Regions from separate parts of the Homo sapiens genome. Here region 1 is linked to region 2. The links are contacts of gene promoters, found by promoter capture Hi-C in human tissues and cell types (Jung and others, 2019). All regions are on one chromosome and are shown on one strand. Each heading gives the region's core, a stretch centred on a gene start or on the middle of the fragment in contact. The rest is flanking DNA. Distances are from core to core; before and after follow the strand shown. Region 1 overlaps FERMT2 (FERM domain containing kindlin 2). Region 2 holds the start of FERMT2 (FERM domain containing kindlin 2).

Region 1 (6,008 bases), core at 2,489-4,988, 66 kb after region 2:
TCAGCTTGGTGATAATGACAAATTGTAGGAAAGCTGGTTAGTATATAACTTAAGCTAATGAATAATCGTGATTGAGTTAGCATCAGTCTTTTCACTGAATTCTTAAGCTGGGCTGCCTTGATTAAGACATAGTAATTTAGATTGAGCAACCCACTAATACTTTTCCTTTTATAAGTCACATCTAATACGAATACTAATCCGTATTTTAAAAATACTTTCGTTTGGTAGGAAAGTGGGTTGCAAACCAAAATCACAAATAAGCCTTATGGTTTGTTTTTTTCCTCTTGGTTGTCTCTGATTTTTAATGGTTGGAGAGTAGTGTATATTGTTGATATAAACAAAATAAATATATGAATTTATATTCTAGGAGAAAATTTAGCCACATAGAAATAAACGTATATAATGTCAGGTTTTTCCTCCTCCATGGTCAACAATTACATACATAGTAAATAAGTTATAAGTATTATTGAATACATAATCTTTCACTTAATCGCCACAAAATACCAGCAGTTTTGGTGATGTCTTCATTTTACTTCTGAGGAAATAACTCCACAAGGGTTAAGTGGAGTTATTTTCCCAAGGTTAAGTAATTTTATTTAACCTTTTAGTTAAATAAAGTTTAACTTTTTTTAACTAAAGTTAAGTAATTTTAGTTAACTTTAGTTAAGTAATTTTCGTTACTTAGTTAAGTAATTTTCCCAAGGTCACAAAGGTAATAAGGAGCAGAGCTAGAATTCACATCCAGGCTCCGGTGCTCATGCTTCTAACCATTAAGTAACCAATTCTTTTTTTTTTAAGAGACAGGGTCTCTCTGTGTTGCCCAGGCTGGTCATCAACTCTTGGCCTCAAGTAATCCTTTCACCTCAGCCTCCCAAAGTGCTAGATTATGGGCATGAGCTACCATGCCTGGCCATAATGTTTATTTTATGAATTATAATAGGAATGTTTGCTAAATTTTTTCTTTCTTTTTTTTTTAAGGGACAGGGTCTTGCTATGTTACCCAGTCTGGTCTCAGACTTCTGGGCTCAAGTGATCCTCCTCCCTCCGCCTCCCAAGTAGTTGGGACTTCAGGCAGATGCCAGCATGGCCAGCTAATTTTTGTATTTTTTGTAGAGATGAGGTTTTGCCATGTTTCCCAGGCTGGTCTCAAGCAATCCTCCTGCCTTGGTCTCTCAGAAGTGCTGGGATAGCTACTAGGGAGGCTGAGGCAGGAGAATCACTTGAACCCGGGAGGTGGGGAGGTTGCAGTGAGCCAAGATCGCACCATTGCACTCCAGCCTGGGCGACAGAGCGAGACTCCATCTCAAAAAAAAAAAAAAAGTGCTGGGATCACTGCACCTAGCCTCAAAACATTTTTTAAAACTATTCTTTTAAGTACAAAAGTATCACATGCTTATAGTAAATATTCAAATATTACAGGATTACATATTCATTTTTTTTCTAACAAAAGTGGGACTGTGTTATACACACATTGTGTTTTCTCACTTGATGATACATACTGATGGACCTCATATATTTTTTAATTACAAAATTTATACATGAATACAGTCTCTTTATCATAAACTCAAGTAATATAAAAAATGTATTAAAATTAAGGTGAGTTCCTTTTAAACTTATTCCCTGGCTACTCCTTCTCAAGAGGGAGCCATTTCTTGATTACTACATATAACGAGGTTGTAAGTTTGGAGTCCAACTTGACAGTACCGTTTCTGTGTGTTTATATGCACAAGTGGGTATAAAATTTGCACATCTAGTCTTATTTTAATAACATAAATGAGATCCTAATATATATTTTATGCTCTGCAATTTGATTTTTGGTGATCAGTGTTTTAGTGATTTGTGTCAAAGCAGAGAAGTCTCCCTAGTTCTTATAAATGACTTCAGAGTTTTACCTATAGAAAAAGTATATTTACCTGTTTTTCTACCTAGGTGGTATCTAATTTTTCTGTCACATATATCCCAGAGCTGGGCGTTGTGGTGTACACCTGTAGTCCTAGCTACTTGGGAGGCTGAGACAGGAGGATCTCCTGAGCCCAGGAGTTCAACCTGGGTGGTCACACTGCTGCATTCCAGCCTGGGCAACAGAGCAAGACCCTGTCTCTAAAAAAATACATGTATGTGTAGATACATATATATCTATACATTATATCACACACACTCTGTCTGTCTCTCTCTCTCTCTCTCCCCCCCAAGAGTTTCTGTGGTTTATACTTCCATCAGTAGTACATGAAAATGCCCCATTTCCTACATTCTGCTCAATATTGAATGTTGTAAATCTGTGTTTTTGCCAGTTTGACAATAAGTAGTATCTCGGTTATTTTGCATTTCCCTAATACTAGGATAGTTGAATAATTTATATGTTTATTAGCCATTTATATTCTATTAATTTTCAAATGATAGATTCTTTATTTTATTTATATTTTTGCTTTTAGTGATATTAAAATTTTAATGTGTTACTTCCCTTTATATACTGGCATTTTGTTTGTGGCCTTTTTTTTTTAAAACCATATTGTTTTACATTTTTATGTGGTCTTATATCTGTTAGCCATTTACTTTATAGTTCTAGGTTTACTCTTGCTTGGGAAAATTTTCTCCAAAAATATAAAAATAATACCATAAAAATTCTTTTGATAAAATATGGTATAAGATAGGTATTTTGGTGAAAATTTTTTAAAATGTATTACTTTAGTACTCTTTTTAAAAAATATACAATTTATAATAAGTTAGGTAAATTTTACTGTGTTAAAATATAGCAATATTTAGGAGTTGTTTGATTATATCGGGTTTTAAATATCTACAGTAGGTGGACTCAGACTGTAGTGCTTTTTGAACTCTATTTCTCCCCCTTAGAGTTTTTAAGTTATCTTTCCATGTCATTTAGTAAGCTCATATTTTGTTGCTAAATCTGCTACTTTATCTTACACTTTACTAGTTTGCTGCCTCAGATGCATTTTAAACCAGACATTCAAGAAAACAACTTAGTTGGGATTGTCTCTGAACCACGATGAAGGAATTTAAAATACCCATACCCTCTGACCCAGCAGTGCTGCTAGAATTGGGAAATAACTACAAAAATGTTTGTTGAAGCATTGGTTTGCAATAATGACATTAGTAACAGATTTTTTTTTTTTTTTTTTTTTTTTTTTGAGACTAAGTCTCGCCCTGTTACCCAGGCTGGAGTGTAGTGGTGTGATCTTGGCTCACTGCAACCTCTGCCTTCTGGGTTCAAGCGATTCTCCTGCCTCAGCCTCCTGAGTAGCTGGAACTACAGGAGCATGCCACCATGCCTGGCTAATTTTTGTATTTTTAGTAGAGACGGGGTTTCACCATGTTGGCTAGGCTGGTCTCAAACTCCTAACCTCAGGTGATCCACCCGCCTTGGCCTCTCAAAGTGCGGGCATTACAGGCATGAGCCACCGCACCTGGCCAGAATTTTATTTTTTTATTTTTATTTTTCGAAACACAGTCTCATTCTGTCACCCAGGCTGGACTGCAGTGGCACAATCTCTGCTCACTGCAACCTCCACCTCCTCGGTTCAAGCGATTCTCCTGTCTCAGCCTCCCAAGTAGCTGGGACTATAGGCGTGCACCACCACACCCAGCTTATTTTTTATATTTTTAGTGGAGACAGAGTTTCACCATGTTGGCCAGGCTGGTCTTGAACTCCTGACCTCAGGTGATCTGCCTGCCTCGGCCTCCCAAAGTGCTGGGATTACAGGCATGAGCCACCTTACAGTAACAGAATTTTAAAAAATAGGTGCACACCAATTGGGAATGGCTTACGTAAGTTATAGTACATGGAGGCAGTGTGTAGCCCTACAGCCAGACTGGCTGGGGTTTTTTTGTTTGTTGTTTTTGAGACGGAGTTTCGCTCTTGTCACCCAGGCTGGAGTGCAATGGTGCAGTCTCTCACTGCAAACTCCGCCTCCCGGGTTCAAGTGATTCTCCTGCCTCAGCCTCCCAAGTAGCTGGGATTACAGGCAGGCTGCCACCATGCCTGGCTAATTTTTTGTATTTTTAGTAGAGGCGGGGTTTCACCATGTTGGCCAGGCTGGTCTCGAACTCCTGACCTCAGGCAGTCTGCCCACCTTGGCTTCCCAAAGTGCTGGGATTACAGGCTTGAGCCACCGCGCCTGCCCAGACTGGCCGATTTATAGCTTGGCTGCAGCTTACTTGCTCTTGACCTTGGACAAGTTATTTAACCTTGCTTTGCCTCAGTTTGCTCCTCTGAAGTGAGAATAATAGAGTTGTTGTGAACGCTAAGTGAGTTTATTATCACATAGTGCCTACAGAACAAATAAGAACAACGAAGTGATTAAGTATGAATTGAAGAAGATACAAACTATAGGAAGTTGAAACGCAGATTTGGGTGGGTGGCTGATTCTATTAAATGTGTGATTGTATTTGTTCATTCTTGAATTGCTATAAGGAAATACCTGAGACTTGGTAACTTAGGAGAAAAGAGGTTTAATTGGCTCACAGTTCTGCAGGCTGTCCAGGAAGCATGGTGGCATCAGCTCCTGGGGAGGCCTCAGGAAACTTACAATTACAGCGGAAGGCGGAGGAGGAGCCAGCACTTCACGTGGCTGGAACAGGAGGTAGGGGTGGGAGTGGGGAGGTGCCACACACTTTAAACAACCAGATCTCATGAGAAGTCACTGACTATACAGTACCAAGCGGGGATGGTGCAAAACCATTATGAGAACTCCACCCCTGTGATTCAGTCACCTCCCACCAGGCCCCTCCTCCAACATTGGGGATTACAATTAGACATGCGATTTGGGCAGGGACACTGATCCAAACCATATCAGTGATTTAGGGGGAGTATCTTTTCTATATTAGAAACTTTATAAAGCAAATTGTCCATTCTAACTTGACTCAGTTTTGGATAGAAATTATAATCTCACCAGGTGCACATTTTCAGTATACTGACATTCTTCGTAACAGATTTATTTAATAGATCTTTGAAAGAAACAAGACTTTGCCTAGAAGTTAATGTTTTTTCACACTTTATCTACATGCACACTCTGTAGCAGAAATACCCTTTGCCCAACTGAGTTGGAGTAATGTGTTCAGCACATTTAATAAGTGTGGGGTGCCCAATTAGTCCTTTCAAAAGGTGTCACACAATTTTAAGTTTGAAAAATACCTGTCTAGTTTAAGGATCTAGCTTTTAAAGCCCCAGGACTAACGATCCCAGTATTCTTTAAATGCTGATAAAGAGTTCACAACTTTGCTTTGTGTTTTAGGATTAACAGTGTTCGGATTTTAGAGGGTTTTTTGTTTGTTTGTTTGTTTGTTTGTTTGAGATAGAGTCTTGCTTTGTTGCCTAGACTGGAGTGCATTGATGCAATCTTGGCTCACTGCAGCCTTCGCCTCCCGAATAGCGTGCACCACCACTCCTGGCAAATTTTTGTGTTTTTAGTAGAGACAGGGTTTCTCCATGTTGGCCAGGCTGATCTCGAATTCCTGACCTCAAGTGATTCAACCGCCTCAGCCTCCCAAAGTGCTGAGATTACAGGAGTGAGCCACCACACCTGGCCTAGATTTTACAGGTTTTTTTTAGTACTAACATTGGAAGAACACATGTCAGGGACATAAAATCAAATATCCTGTGTCCAGCAAGAGATTACATATTTTCAGTAAAAACTTTTTTTTTTTAACTTTGCTTCCTAGACTAGGTCATGACAGCTACAAAAATCTCTAGCATTAGCACCACTTTTTCACAGGCAGTGTTTCTATCATTGCATGGGGAGAAGAGTTAAAAATAGTAGGAAAGGAGATGGATTTCTAAGCTTAACCCTAAATTTAGGGAATGGAAAAGCCATTTTCTTTACATTAACAGTGTTATGCCCATTGCACATTTTCTTTTGAAAAATTATGACAACAGGACAAAATATAATTTAACAGAGCTAGGACTTGGGGGAGCTGCTTGTCCTTAATGTCATTCTGAACATTTTTAGATGCCTTAAATTCATCTCCTTAATTTTTGTAGTTTAAATAAAGGA
Region 2 (6,629 bases), core at 3,115-5,614:
ATGGTTTCCTACATAAAACTTTCTGTAACTAAAGCAGTAAATGTAAGCAGTGCATTTCTTTCCCCTTAAAGATTTCACTGTTATCTCGGAGCCCTTCTTTGGTCTGTGAAAACAGCCATATTCCTAGCAAATCTTGTTTCTCAGTTTGCCAGTCCTTTTCTTGCTAATTACAGTGACTGCCCATTTCTGTCAAAAAAGTGGCTTTTGCAACCTCCCTTCCCATTTAGATCACATTCCACACCCCTGGATTTCTACCTCTTTAGTAGCGTTATTGGTGTGTGCCATTTTTGGCAATCCCCAAGACAAAGAAAGAATTCTACCCACCTGGTATTTGACAAGAATAATTCATTACATTTCATCTTGCTGGCCTCATGTCGCATTTTCAAGTCCCCCCTTACACATTTCACACCCACACAAATCCTCTCTTATTTTCTCCTACCCCCATCCTCTCTCCTTCTTTCAAACCCAGGGGTTATATTTTGAATTGACCTTCTAGAAATATAAAGCACAGTGCAAGTAGGCACAGAAAAAAAGCTAAAGTCAACCTGAGCATTACCAAGCCCGAGGGCTGCATTTGACGGCAGATCTGTGAGGCACTGCTTGGTCTAAATCTAAGTCCAGTGCTTGGTACCTTATTTGGATATTGCTGCTTTCATTGCTTGAGCTGTTCTTCCAAACACTGGCGTACTCAGCTACTTTTCAGTATGATGTAAGTACCACAAGCATTGCATTGTCCTAGTGGTTCTAGCAGGGGATTTCAGATAAGAGTCTACATTTGAATACATTCTAAATCTTAGGTAGAAGTGAATATTTAAGAAATGCACTTGAAAGCGTCACTTGATAAACTGGAAAAAAAAAATCCCAGTTTCAGAGAGGTGAGGCTGACTCCTCTTTAATCTTCAAAGCAAGTGACAGCTTGAAATAGTCAAAAAGAAGGCCTGAAGGGATCAGCTGCACCCAACCTAATCTAATTATTCTTCCACTGGTACTTAACTGAAGGTCCTTGCCTTCCTGTGCATTAATTGCTCAAATATATACTGCTGACTTTCTAAAGCCAGTAAAGTGTCTTATGAAGCTATACTCAAGCGATTTCAAATGTTAAGAAATAGGGCAGTTATTCACAATATTAAAATTCCCCACCCCCACTCTCTGTCACTAAATGTAGAGAACATTCGTAGAAGTGGATTCAGGAAAGCACGGTAGTTAGAGCAGTCGGTGCTGTCGTGGGGGTGTTCAGAAAGTAACTCTTACTGGAAAGTGGGAAAATAACTAGAATTTGGAAACCGAGTACAGATGCTCTGCAACTTATGATGAGGTTACATTCTGTAAATTGAAAATATTGTAAGTCAAACATGCATTTCATATACCTAACCTACCGACGAACATCACAGCTTAACCTAGCCTATCTTAAATGTATCCAGAACATTTACATTAGCCTCCAGTTGGGCAAAATGATCCAATATGAAGCCCATGTTATAGTAAAGTGTTGACTATCTCATGTAATTTATTGAATACTGTACTGAATGTGAAAAACAGAAAGGTCCTAGGGGTATTCAAAGTACGGTTTCTACTGAATGCCTATCGCTTTCACACCGTCATAAACAAAAAATCATAAGTCAGGGACCATCTGTATTAAAAGAGTTTCTAAACCATGACAGTTGGCTTCAACAATTTTGTCTGAAGGAAAGGGAATATTCAGAAAGGGCATAGATATTTTAGGTTCTAGAAAGGCATGTTTAGAAAGCCATAATTTTTTTGTAGCTTACTGGAGCATGTGCAAATGTCATAAGATACAATTCTTAGCTTCATTCCCAGCTCCATTTTAAATCTCTACTCCAAAATAAATAAATAAATCTCTACTCCACCCCTCTAAGCCTCCCAATCCCCACCCACCTTTTTTTTCTTGTTTTGTGCCACTTATAATGTATACTATCTCACAGTTTATGCATCCTTATACGTTGCCATAAATCTTTTGGGGGATAAAGTGGGGGAAATAAATAAGTATATTTTTAAAGTGGGGATTTTCCCATTGAGATTTGTTTTTTGTTTTTCTGCGATCAATCCAGGCTGGAGGGCAGTGGTGTGAATACAGCTCACTGCAGCCTCCACCTCCTGGGCTCAAGTGATCCTCCTGCCTCAGCCTCCCAAAGTGCTGGGATTATAGGCATGAGCCACTGTACCTGGCCCCTGAGATTTCTCCATGGAACAGACCCACTGTTTCTTTGACATTTGTGTTGGTTTGACACCAGCATGTTTTCCATTTTCTCTGTACCAAGCTATTGTGAATTTGTGGACAATGAAAATAATTTGAAATCTCTGCTCTTAAAGAACTCAAGTTTTCTTTAGAACTATTTAAAAAACACCAAAGGAAACCTCTGAAAATCCTGTCCATCGTTCAGTCAGTAGCTGCTGTATCCAGTGTCTATCATCGTGAATGTCATGGCATGTACAGAGAAACTGAAATGCTGGATGCAATTCTAGGTGGTGGTGTAAAGTTTTTGAGTTGGCAGAAAATAAAGAATAAAAGAAAGAAAAAACTTCCGTGATCTCAAGACCCAGAGAGCTTCTTAACATTTTGCTGTATTTCCTTACAGTCTTTTTCTCTGAACATTTAACGTAAATAAGCTCTTAATTTTATAGCTGCATATCCAGTTCTGCAGTTTTGTGCCCTAACAAGCAATTCCTTAATTTATTAAAAACATTTTCCTGTATATTTTCAACCCCATAATTTACATAAACTCCCTCATCTCCGGACATTCATATTGCTTTCAAGTGAACTATTTGGAACGTCCACGAGTAGAAATATTGGAGAGTAGACAGATAAGAGACTGAAGGCATCAATTTCTCCATGATAACTAGCTAAAAACACTGTAGTGGTTTTCCCTATTTTTTTTTCTGCCAAGCCTTTGGCATCTGACTAAATTTTGCTGCTTTCACTCCTTTCTGAGTTCCACCCCTTTCTTGAGGCCTCTCATCTTGTTTCCCAGTAATGTTAATGAACAAAAGGTTATCTGCCTAGCGAGTTCCTTTTCCAAGCGTTTGAGACAATTCGACAAGATTATGAGACTGCGAACTGGAGTCTTTTATCTTTAAAAGGTATTTTAATCTGAGCCTTCTTGACGTTTATTTTCTGAGCCCATGAATTTGCTAGCGAGGCAGTTTCTCTGGTTTGCTGTTTCTGAAAGGAGTTCCCTCAACAGAGTACAACAGTTAATGGGGGAAGTGGAAACAAAAGCGGGAAGCAGGAGGACCGTTCCCCATCACTAGCCAGTCTTCAACAGGTGAAGTTGTTTAGCTCTTCCTGGTACCTGCAGGCACCGTTCCAGAAGTATTAAAATCCAAGGTGTGGCTGAGGGTGGGATGGAACATGTATCTCCATCTAACAGCTTTAATAGACTGTTAGTTCTAACTTGCATATAAAAACACACAAATAAGTACAAAGAGCTGGAGAAGCTGGGGAAACAGTTTCTGAGTAAAACCTGTGGCACTAGGTTGTGTCTTTCCTTTCCCCTCAGGCAAGAGCATCATCTGTTTGACTGGCATCTGGCTGGAGCGTCCGAAGGGGTTAAGAACGCTTGCAAACTCCTGGGAGTCCAGTAGGAGTTGCTGATGGTGCCGGACATTGCTTGCAAAGCAATTTTTGTGGTTCACCTCCCTCGGGGTTTTCTTATTCTTTTGTAGGACATTCAAGGAGTTGGTTTGGGCATTTACTTTTTAAAGTTTCTCCGTCCCAGACTCCTCTCTCCAGCTCCCGGGGTGCGGCACCTCTCACCTCCCTGAGGCTTTTTGTCTCGCTGCAGGCGTGGGGAGGGGGCGAGAGGACTTTGTTCTCCGAAAACGACCTTGCCCTGGGAATTTCCTGGGGCCGTTTCTCACGGACAAGCCCCCTCTCCCTGCTGCCAGCGCGGACACACGCCGCGGGGGCCCCAGTCCAGCCTGAGCTCTAGACGCCCCGCCGGCCACCAGCGCCCCGGGAAAGGCCGCCCGCGCTCCCCCGCTCCCCCTCCTCAGGGCCCGCCGCCTAGAGCCCGGATGTTGGATTCAATTCCTGAGCCGGGTCCTTCATTTCCATAAAAGGGCAGCGCTCCGCGGGGCCGAGATTGCCGCCCCGCCGCGCCCCCCGCCACCCCCGCGCCGCCCCGCCCCACGCCGCCCCGCCCCGCCCGGGACCCGCAGCCCCCTCCCCCGAGCGCGGCGCCGGGAGGGCGGGGGCAGAGGCGAGGCCGGCCGGACCCGCTCAGGGCAGCTCTGCGGGCGGCGAAGGAGGGAGCCAGCGCGCCCAGCCCAGCCAGGCTCGGACAGAGGGGGCGGGGAGAGGGTGGAGCGCGGGGAGCCAGGCGAGGGGCCGCGACGACGGGACTCCATTAGCCGCTCCGGCCACAGGCAGCGCTTCGCCAGCCGAGGAACCGGACGCGGACACCGCCGCCCCGCGAGCCTCCAGCCCCTCGCCTGTTGCCGCGCGAGTCCCGGGCCCGGAGCGCTAGGAGCGCGCGGTGAGGGAGCGGGACCCCGCCGGGACCCGAGGGGGCGCGGCGGGGAGGGGAACGGGGAGTCAGCCCGCGCTGTGTCTCGGGGCCGGCCGGCAGGTGAAGCCCTCCGCGGTCCGCTAGGCGGGGACGGTGTGGGGCGGGCGGCGCCGGGACCGAGGAACGCTGCGGGGCGAGCGGGGCGTAGGGTCCTCCCGCAGCCCCGGCCGCCGCCGCCCTCCCGAGTTTCTGCCGAAAGCCCCGGGTCCTCCACCACCTCCCAGCCCGTGGCCGGCGCTGCGAATTCGGTGGGATTCGCCTTTCTTTGGGGGAGTGACGCTTACGAGAGCCATTTCCTCCGCGCTCGCAGGAAGGAGCCATGGCTCTGGACGGGATAAGGATGCCAGATGGCTGCTACGCGGACGGGACGTGGGAACTGAGTGTCCATGTGACGGACCTGAACCGCGATGTCACCCTGAGAGTGACCGGCGAGGTGCACATTGGAGGCGTGATGCTTAAGCTGGTGGAGAAACTCGGTGAGTAGCATCCCAGCCGCGTCCAACTAATGACTTCCCAGAATTGGTAGGGGGAGGAAAGAGGCTCACGACGGGGGAGGGGCCCATTTGAGAAATCTTGGCATCTCGCAAATGCTTTTTGGAGATGTAAAATCTTTCAGTATTTAAGCAGATAGACCTGTTCCCCTTTGCGTCTTATTTTGTTTTGCTATTCTCTGAATTTTCATATGTAATGATTCGAGCCTCCCAATTATAACCTTAATTGCGTAGTTACGCGGGACGGGGGATGTGTGCCGGGGAACTCGTTAATTCTTAACATTTACTGACAGAACGATAAAAGAATGAGGAAAGTGTGTTGGGAGGGTGATATTACAGTGTCCGTGGTTATCTATGTCTTCAGCATACCTGAATGTTAGTGACGTTTGGTATAGAGAATGATGCAAAATCCATTTAAGAAAAATCTGTGCTGGAAAATGTGCAACTACTGGCGCCAGTGTGAAGTTTCTGTGGCTGTTCTACGTGGTGGAGTGCATTAAAATGTTCCAGTCATCCACTCTTACTAGGGGTGGGGCAGTGCTTGACAAACTTGGTATCCATAGTCCATGCTCGATGTAAGCCGTTTCGAGCGTTCGGTTTTATATTAATAACAAGCCAAGGAAAGAACTTTGTGTTAAAAAGCAGACTTTGTTAAACTAATTTGAGGTTGACGGTGTTTGCTTGAGTACAAATATGTATTGGATTGATATCCGATTTAAAATAATAAGGTATCTTACAGTATGAAGTGTGTGAAGAGTGTGCAGTACACATTTTTGTGATGAATGAAACCATTTTCATCTGGAAGAGTCAGCTAAATAGATGATTTGATCATAAGAGAAATGCTCAGAGAACTATCTTCCTGAGCTTTAAAGAGCCTTTTGTACATAATACAGTTGTGATAAGATGATTATCTGTGTGGCATTGTCTTTTTAGGCTGGAATTGTTTTTTGTTTTGGTGAAGGGGGGTTGGGGACTTTCTGGGGGTTTTTTTCGTCTTTTTTTTTTTCTTTTTTTTTTTAAACACAGCATTCGTTTTCAAGCTACACTGGGAAAGTAGAGAAGTGCTTATTTGTCAGGAAATCTATTTCTTACCAAAGGATTATTGTATGTAAAGGTACTGAAATAGCACTCTGATGCATTTTGCAAAATAAGGCAGGATTCATTTGGGTGGACCTGCTTTGTACCCCTGCAGGAAGTTTTATTATTGAAGGACCAAAGTGAAGCTCCTTACAAGGTAGCCTCTTCCTTAAGACTGCATTGTTTGGCTCCCTGAGATACAGCTCAGGAAAGAAAATCCTCCTAGGTAGCCCAGTGAAAATTAGATTTTGCTGTATTGATTAACCATTTAACTGGCAGTTAACAGTATTTTTATCTGATTTGAATAAATCAGTCACTGTTTGCAAAATATGTATGAACCTTTTTTGTCCAGCTCTGGTATGAGATTATTTAAGAAGGAAAATAGCAAATATTTGGATATTTTGTTTTCAAAGAAAACAAGCATTTTTGTTAGAGCTTTTCTAATTTATGGTAAATGGACCATATTAATACATTGGTCTCAATAGGAGATATTTTTTATATTGCAAAAAAAGGAGCTGTTGAAGGTGACTGAGAC

Evidence for each region. Contacts are between HindIII fragments. The study calls those that stand out against the background at their distance.
Region 1: a contact is called between a fragment that was not itself captured here and the fragment with the promoter of FERMT2 in region 2, in 3 of the 25 tissues and cell types used here (liver, mesenchymal stem cells and mesendoderm cells).

The regions. Positions count from the first base shown.
Region 1 is chr14:52,882,451-52,888,458 of GRCh38, reverse strand. The region is part of intron 4 of FERMT2 (FERM domain containing kindlin 2); the gene reads left to right. All of the region lies in intron 1 of LOC105370500 (a long non-coding RNA gene), which reads right to left. Among named protein-coding and RNA genes, the nearest start is that of FERMT2, 66 kb to the left of the region's middle. RefSeq lists enhancers at 3,509-4,034, 4,035-4,560. The HindIII fragment of the contact is 9,630 bases long and covers 1-6,008 here.
Region 2 is chr14:52,948,785-52,955,413 of GRCh38, reverse strand. FERMT2 (FERM domain containing kindlin 2) reads left to right here and starts at 4,364. Exons shown (of 15, transcript NM_006832.3): 1 at 4,364-4,493; 2 at 4,837-5,002. The coding sequence starts at 4,846. RefSeq lists an enhancer at 3,087-3,665 and a silencer at 4,386-4,595. The HindIII fragment of the contact is 21,614 bases long and covers 1-6,629 here.